Linked DNA regions of Homo sapiens: region 1 is linked to region 2. Evidence: promoter capture Hi-C in human tissues and cell types (Jung and others, 2019). All regions are on one chromosome and are shown on one strand. The core of a region is centred on a gene start or on the middle of the fragment in contact, and the rest is flanking DNA. Distances in the headings are between cores, read along the strand shown. Region 1 has its middle 25 kb from the start of CST9L. Region 2 holds the start of CST8 (cystatin 8).

What was found. Contacts are between HindIII fragments. The study calls those that stand out against the background at their distance.
Region 1: a fragment that was not itself captured here is called in contact with the fragment with the promoter of CST8 in region 2 in 1 of the 25 tissues and cell types used here (stomach).

Annotation. Positions count from the first base shown.
Region 1 is chr20:23,541,747-23,545,766 of GRCh38, forward strand. It overlaps the pseudogene CST13P. Among named protein-coding and RNA genes, the nearest start is that of CST9L, 25 kb to the right of the region's middle. The HindIII fragment of the contact is 4,942 bases long and covers 1-3,968 here.
Region 2 is chr20:23,489,377-23,493,275 of GRCh38, forward strand. CST8 (cystatin 8) reads left to right here and starts at 1,741. Exons shown (of 4, transcript NM_005492.4): 1 at 1,741-1,966; 2 at 2,149-2,522; 3 at 3,582-3,695. The coding sequence starts at 2,292. RefSeq lists an enhancer at 1,205-1,705. The HindIII fragment of the contact is 12,460 bases long and covers 205-3,899 here.

The sequences.
Region 1 (4,020 bases), core at 248-2,747, 52 kb after region 2:
AAGATATGTAGTTATCTTCTAGTGTGTTCTGCCACACTCATTTCCATTTTAAAGAAGAAGCAAAGACACTTGCAAGAACTAGAACAACACAGTTAACCCATTAACTTCATTTGTTTGGCCTTTTTGCATTTTTGTGTGTTCTTCATGGGCTGATGTTGAAAATCCATGATGTGTTTTGACAGCATTGCATAGCCTATTCTTGCTGGATACTTCCCCTACTAGCTGGGATAATCTGCTGCAATAAATGGAAGTGGTTTCTACACCTCACCCAACTCTGAGTACAAATTACTTTTCATGGACAAATCTTTCTAGATAACCAGAGGACCCAGCCCTCAATTGCTTCAAGCATGCTGGCACTCTCTGTAAGGCTCTGAGAGTCTGGCTGCCTTGAGAGTTTCCGTCCATGGATTTCTACGGAAATCTCCCTTCCCAGGACTTTTTGGAAGACACAGCCTGTTAGCTTAGAAAGTTAGTTTTAACCAGATCCAACCAGAGAGACAGCTGGGCCATTTAGAGATTTTCATTGGTTTTGAATTGAAGCAGAAAAGTTAATGATGCAGGGAGAGAAGACTACATTCGTGTGTGTGTGTGTGTTTGTGTGTATGCACACGTGTGCATGTCTGTGCATAAGTGTGTGCTCACAGTTAGATGTATCAGTTAATGCTGTATGACAAGTCACCTGGTCACTTAATGGCTCAAGCAATTGATTTATATGTCTCATGGTGTCTGTGAGTCAGGCATCTCTGGATGGCCAGACTGGGCAGCTCTGGTTGTCACATCTCATTGGGTTACACTCTGATATTGACTGTGCTGCCATTATTTAAAGGTTTGATGGACTCTGGAGAATCCTTTCCAAGGTAGCTCACTCCCATGCCTGCAGGTTGATAATGGTTATTGACTGAGGTCTCTGTTCTCCACGTGGCTTCTCCACAAGACTGTACGTCAGCTTGGTATCCTGGATGACTTGTTCCAGACACAGTGTTCCCAGAGACCAAGATGGAAGCCACTGTATCCTTTGTAAACTAGACTCAACCCAGAACAGCCCTGGCTCAGTGTGGACTACACAACGACATAAAGATAGAGATTAGGGTCACTGGAGGCCATCTGGGAGGCCAGCCACTACAGTGTGTACACATGTGTGCATGTGTGCGCATGCATGTGTATGGAGAGTGGACTAAGGTGATACCATGACCGTAAAGAGGCACTTTTGAAATCCTGATGCTTAGACAGCAGCACCAATGTGCAGGCTGGGGCAAGGAGACAATATTGTGTAATAACCAGTAGTAATACAGGGTCAGATTCTAACTTAGACACATGACGGAAGGATGGTGATGCTCAGAGGCCACCTGCATGACAGCTGTCCTTGAGGGCTCTTCTCCGACAGGGCTGACTGCAACCTTCTGAGCCTCTCTGCCTAATGGCTTTCTCTGCCAATGAAGGGCAGGCTGGAGTGCCAGTGGGTAATACCCTTGAGAGGAGCCCTCAGCCAATGATAGAATTTGGAGGATAAACATCCTGGCCTTTTATCCCCTGGGATATAACGCCAAGTTGTGTCTACCCAGTCACTGAGGAGTGTCCTGCAAGACTGAGCCCTAGCTATCCATATTGCTAATCTCACTATCCGTGCTGCTTCTGCCCCTTACTATTTCCACTTTTCAACTGCCTTTCTGGAATCATTTCTAAATAAGCCACTTGTACTTGAATTTTTTGTCTCCAAGTCAGCTTCTGGAGGAGCCAACTTGATAGTGGAACCCAGATCTACTGTAAATGGCACCCTGAGACCCCCAGGGGCTTGCCTGGCTGAGATCAGAAATCAGGATACCCTTTACCTTGACAACGGAAAAACCAAATTCTGCCAAAATATTTAAAGAGGTTTATTCTGAGCCATATGAGTGACCAAGAAAGGGAAACACAGTCTCAAGAGGTCCTGAGAAAGTGTGGCTGAGGTGGTCCGGTTACAGGTTAGTTTGAAGCATGTCATGGAGCCAGGAGTTGCAGGTAAAATTATAAATCAATACATGGAAGGTATATATTGGTTTGGTCCCAAAAGGTGGGACATCTCAAGGCATTGGCTTACAAGTTTTAGGTGGGTTTAGGGATTCTTTAGTTTGAAATTGGTAGAAAAAGTTAAGCTTTGTCTAAAACATGGAGTCAGTAGAAAGGAATGCTAAGGGGCTCTACTATCTGTCAGGTGATGCCATGCCAGAGTCAGGTTGGAAAACAAGTCACAATGTACTGGGTCAGAAAGGACCTTTTTGATGAAATTTTATGGTTTGCAAGGCATGATTCCTCAGGTCCTTAAACAGGAATTTCAGAAATAAAGAAAAAAAGGTAAGAGGTCAGTCCTCAACCTGCACTCTCTAACATCTGCCAGCAGTTGAGCTCTTGGGTGGCGGGCAGGTGAAGTGGCGTTCTTCATGGCCCCGCACAACCCTGGGCCCCTTTCTTTCCCATGTGCTGGCAGGGTTGTGGGGACACTGTCAGAGCAGTTCTTGTTCCATTCTCTCCCTGCCTCAGGAATGGGATCCCTATGCTACTAGCTGCAGCACCTGAGGACACATCTCTCTCATCTACCCTCGCCTTCATCCCCAAGCTCCGTGGGTATGCAACCTGTCCATCTGGGGGACTTGGTCTCCCTTGCTTCTTGGCCTGAGCTGGCCAGCCCTATGTGGTCTCATGAGCAGCCCATGGAGGAAGGTGTTCTTTGCTGAGCCCTGACAGTGTGATTGAACATTGGAGGGACCTGGGTCTTCACATGTCCCGGGCTGCTTGTTTCCATCATACTCATACCCCATGTTGTCTTAGGGCATACCAAACCCTACTGCCCACATCTAAGGTCAGTTTTGTTAATGTGATCTGTGCATGGGTTCAGGTTTAGCTCTTCAAAACCATCTGGCCTCTGTTGACCCACTGAGTCAGAGTCAGGATGAAGAATTAAGATCAAGACAGTTTCACTGACTCATGGAATTTTTGAGTTTATTGACTAACAGCAATATTTTTATATGAGCATGAAAGGAAATGGAATGTGTGGACATAGAGGCTCCTGAGACACCTCTAAATTGTCTCCTTCTCTACCAAGGCCGTGTTAGCCTTGGCCACACCAGGAAGGACACAGACATATATCAAAGAGGCTTCATGCAGTGTAGCTTGCCCTTCCACCTTCTACCACGTGAGGACACAGCAGGGAGGCCCTCACAAGATGCTGGCACCTTGGTCCTGGGCTTCCCAACCTCTAGAGCTGTGAAAAATAAATTTCTGTTTCCTGTAAATTAACCAGCCTGTGTTATTCTGTTATAGCAGCACAAACAGAAGAGGACAGTTCCTTTCCTGGGCTCAGCAGGGGCCAGGGAAGAACCAGAACTCCAACTCACAGGAGGTATGTGGACATGAGGGACTCTGGGTCTTGGGACCTGAAGTGGAGATTTGGAGTGAGTGGGAGTTGTCCTGAGACCACATACAGGGCCAGGACTGACAGCTGAGATGTTTCCTTGTGTATGTATCCCGGCAGTTCCCTGCCCTCCCCAGGCTCCACCCCATCTTCCCTTCCTCTGCCTCAAGGAGAGAGGTTTGGGGAGTCTGCAAAAACCTCACATTTTCCTCATCACTTTGTGTTCATTATTATGGTCAATCTCCCCAAGGCTGTGTCCCAGCCCTGACCCCCTGAGAAAAATGAGGAAAGTATCCACATGTCCTCCAGCAGATGGGAAAGTGGCCACAAGGTAGAATAAAGTAGTGTATATGTAGCATATTTTGGAACTAATTTATACTTAGTGTTTTCTTCTACTGCCACTTTTGACTTCAGCTGTAACCATTTGAGGACAGCCAAGCAGAGGTTGCCATCTTTATATAAATGACTCAGGGACAGCAGATGACAGATTAGGAGCTGAGGGGTGCAGGGTTAAATAAGAACTCACATTTCTGGGGAAGGAGGAAGCTAGTGACACTACACTACAATCTGTGCCCCTTTTCCTTCCTGGGGTTGGGGTCCAGGGATGCTACTGACCAGATGTTCCCAGCATG
Region 2 (3,899 bases), core at 491-2,990:
GCAATAAATAATAAATTTAAATTTGCGTAAAGCTTTGCATCAATTTTACATCTAGTCTTTTATTTTACAAAAACACTTGTGTAACATCATGAAGATATTGGAAAGGGATTGTTCACTGCAATACTGTTTGTAACAGCTGAAAATGAGAAACTGAAGAATCTAGTCATAGGGAGAAAGTTTAAATACAGCATAATGCATTTGTAGTCTGCAATGCTTTGCCACCTGCCTGACAGATTCCTGCCCCATATGTGTTTTCTGTACGTTGCCCTTGCTCATAGAACCCATTGATCTTTGCAGCCTAGGAAGAATGCTCACCTCTCTGCCTCACCAGGAACTTTCTGGACACTGATTTGGGATTTTCACAGAAAAGCAGAAGCTTTGAGAGCTTAACAGGTGCGTGCCCCCCTCCTCCCACTAAGGGCCAGGCCTGGGCATCAGAGTGGGCCACGTGACCCTTACCCTGGCAGGACAGGGCAGGGGGTTACTGTTGGCCCAAGCCAAGGGAGTTCAGAGGCCAGGCATTCAGGAAGCCAGAGTCATTGGCACAGGTGGGCAGAAGATGCCAGAGGGGCCCTGTATTAGTCAGGGTTCTTTTAAAGGGACAGAACTAATAGGATATATATGGTTGTGTATATATATAAAGTTAATACTTAATAAACTCCCCTTTATATATATATAAAATATATATATAAATTATATATATATTAATTATATATATAATATATATATAAATTATATATATATTAATTATATATATAATATATATATAAATTATATATATATTAATTATATATAATATATATATAAATTATATATATATTAATTATATATAATATATATATAAATTATATATATATTAATTATATATATAATATATATATAAATTATATATATATTAATTATATATATATAAAATATATATAATTTATATATATAAAATATATATAATTTATATATATAAATTATATATAAAATATATATAATTTATATATATAAATTATATATAAAATATATATAATTTATATATAAAAATTATATATAAATTATATATATAAAATATATATATAAATTGTATATATATAAAATATACATATAAATTATATATATATAAAATATACATAAATTATATATATAAATAATATGTATATAAAAGGGAGTTTATTAAGTATTAACTTACATGATCACAAGGGCCCACAACAGGCTGTCTGCCAAACTGAGGAGCAAGGGGAGCCAGTCTGAGAGTCCCAAAACTGAAGAACTTGGAGTCTGATGTTCGAGGGCAGGAGGCATCTAGCATGGGAGACAGATGTAGACTAGGAGGCTAGGACCATCTCTCCTTTTCACGTTTTTCTGCCTGCTTTATATTCGCTGGCAGCTGATTAGATTGTGCCCACCAGATTAAAGGTGGATCTGCCTTCCCCAGCCCACTGACTCAAATGTTAATCTCTTTTGGAAACACCCTCACAGACACACCCAGGATCAATACTTGGTGTCCTTCGATCAAATCAAGTTGACACTCAGTATTAACCATTGCAGGCCCCTGACTCTGAGGGCACAGCAGGAGGCATTTGCTTGCTCTCTGTGCCCCTGTGAGAGCTGTTTAGACCAAAGGCCGGAGGCTGGCAAGTGGGAGATGTCCTCACTGGGACAAGACACAGGTGCTGAATTACATCACAAAGCGTAACCTCCCTGCAGGGCGTGGACTCAGAGGGGCAAGAGAGACCGCAGACCAGGACCCACAGAGACCCTTGACTGGGCCACAGGCATGAACTAAGAGTGCTGAAGACCTAGGAGAACCACTGGTCAGGTCAGCTCCCAGCTCCACAGGGAGTAAGAAGGAGCTGCAGGCACAGCAGGCTGAAAGTCCACCAAGGGCTGAGGCCACAAGGCCTCTGGGGCAGCCACAGTTTTCATGATCACATCATACAGGACTGAGAAGCAGATAACAAGAGTGACGCTCACAGGGGTAGGCATAGACACACTGGGGCCGAAGGGGAGAGGAACTCTCCCTAGACACACAGATTGCTCTCAGGGTAAGGAGGGGAGGCTGGTAGAGAGACTCCTTAACTGGCATTCCTGGGTGGGTTTCCATGGAGAAAGAGAGGACAAACCCCAAAGAGTGACCCTAATGGCCTGTCTTGAATCCAGCTGGGCTGACGCTAACAGGAGGCAGTGTGTGGCTCGAAGATTCTTGAACCCACAGCAGCAGCTGCGGCCACCCCATCCTGCCCACAGCTCCAGCCCTGAGACGACGAGGAGGAGAGTCGACTTTGCCTCTTGCCCAAGGGACCATGCCCAGGTGCCGGTGGCTCTCCCTGATCCTCCTCACCATTCCCCTGGCCCTGGTGGCCAGGAAAGACCCAAAAAAGAATGAGACAGGGGTGCTGAGGAAATTAAAACCCGTCAATGCCTCAAATGCCAACGTGAAGCAGTGTCTGTGGTTTGCCATGCAAGAATACAACAAAGAGAGCGAGGACAAGTATGTCTTCCTGGTGGTCAAGACACTGCAAGCCCAGCTTCAGGTAAAGGTGTCTTTCCATATAGGTGGACATTTGCATATGGTGGCACAGTTGAAGCCAGACTGAAAGAGTGGGCATATAAGAAAAATATCACTATGCAAAAATCCTAAATATGTGAATGCTTAAGAGCCTAGACACTTCCACAGCATCAATAAGGCAGTGAACACACAGAGCACTTTCTACAAACGCTTGCGCTTTTGTTCTAAGTCCTTCGCATAGATTAACTCATTTAAACCCCAAACTGCAAATCAAATGTTCATGTATTTGCTAAGGTTGGGAGACAGATAGAATGCTAGCCATGAGAAAAGATCTGATAAAGGTGAGTCCAGGTGAACCTGGACCCAACTAGCAGACACTCCTTCATCTCCTGCTGTAATCCTTTAATGCCAGATGAAAACAGATTTAAATGGACATCACAAGTAGCCTTGATTGCATTCAGTCACTAATGAGTTCAACAAATACTAATGTCCTGCTATAAACCTACTGCTGTTCTACTCACTAAAGACTCAGCAGAGAACAAGACAGGCAAACTCATGCCTGCATGGGTCCTCATGGACTGTGTGCTGAGCTGGTGGGAGGGGCTTTGGGTGGGGAAACCCCAGAGGATGGGAGGTTTCACAGGAATCTGAGGGACTGGGGCCTAATGTGGCTGAGGGGGCTGTCCCCTGGTCAGGCCTGTGTGAACCTGAGCATCTCAGGCCCAGGAGAGCTGATGGTTCTGAAGAGCCCACCTTTCACCTCTCAGTCCTCACTGAGCATGCAGCATGCCCTGGGCTTGGGGACAGGAAATGGAATGAGAAGGCCTTGCTTTCAAGGAGGTGACAAACTGGAGAGGAGTCTTTACTCAAGTGTCCAGCTCCAGGAGCCTATGGAGTCCTGACTGATCTTGTTGTACACAGGGCTCCAGGCAGTGGGCATCTTAGCCTTCCGCTAAAGCTCTGTCTGGGGGTGAGGGAGGAAGGAAAGAGGAAAGGACGAGAGTAAGAGTAATTTTTTTTTTTTGTCAAAACTTTAAAAAAGTACAACTCTTTTGAATAAAATTGCATAATTGCTAACCAACAGGTCACAAATCTTCTGGAATACCTTATTGATGTAGAAATTGCCCGCAGCGATTGCAGAAAGCCTTTAAGCACTAATGAAATCTGCGCCATTCAAGAAAACTCCAAGCTGAAAAGGGTAGGTGATGAACCACTCATCTGTGACGGCCTAGGCAGCTCTGAACCCAAGAGAGAAAGCTGAGGCACGCAGACCTTCTCTTTGAGGTCTGGGTGGCTCCCAGTGTTTAGCCCCAGATAGCCAACCCTGTGGCCTTTATAGCAGAAGATCCAGGGCCACGGAACGTGGTGGAACCCTCTGAGCTTCTTTCTCATCCTTCATCCT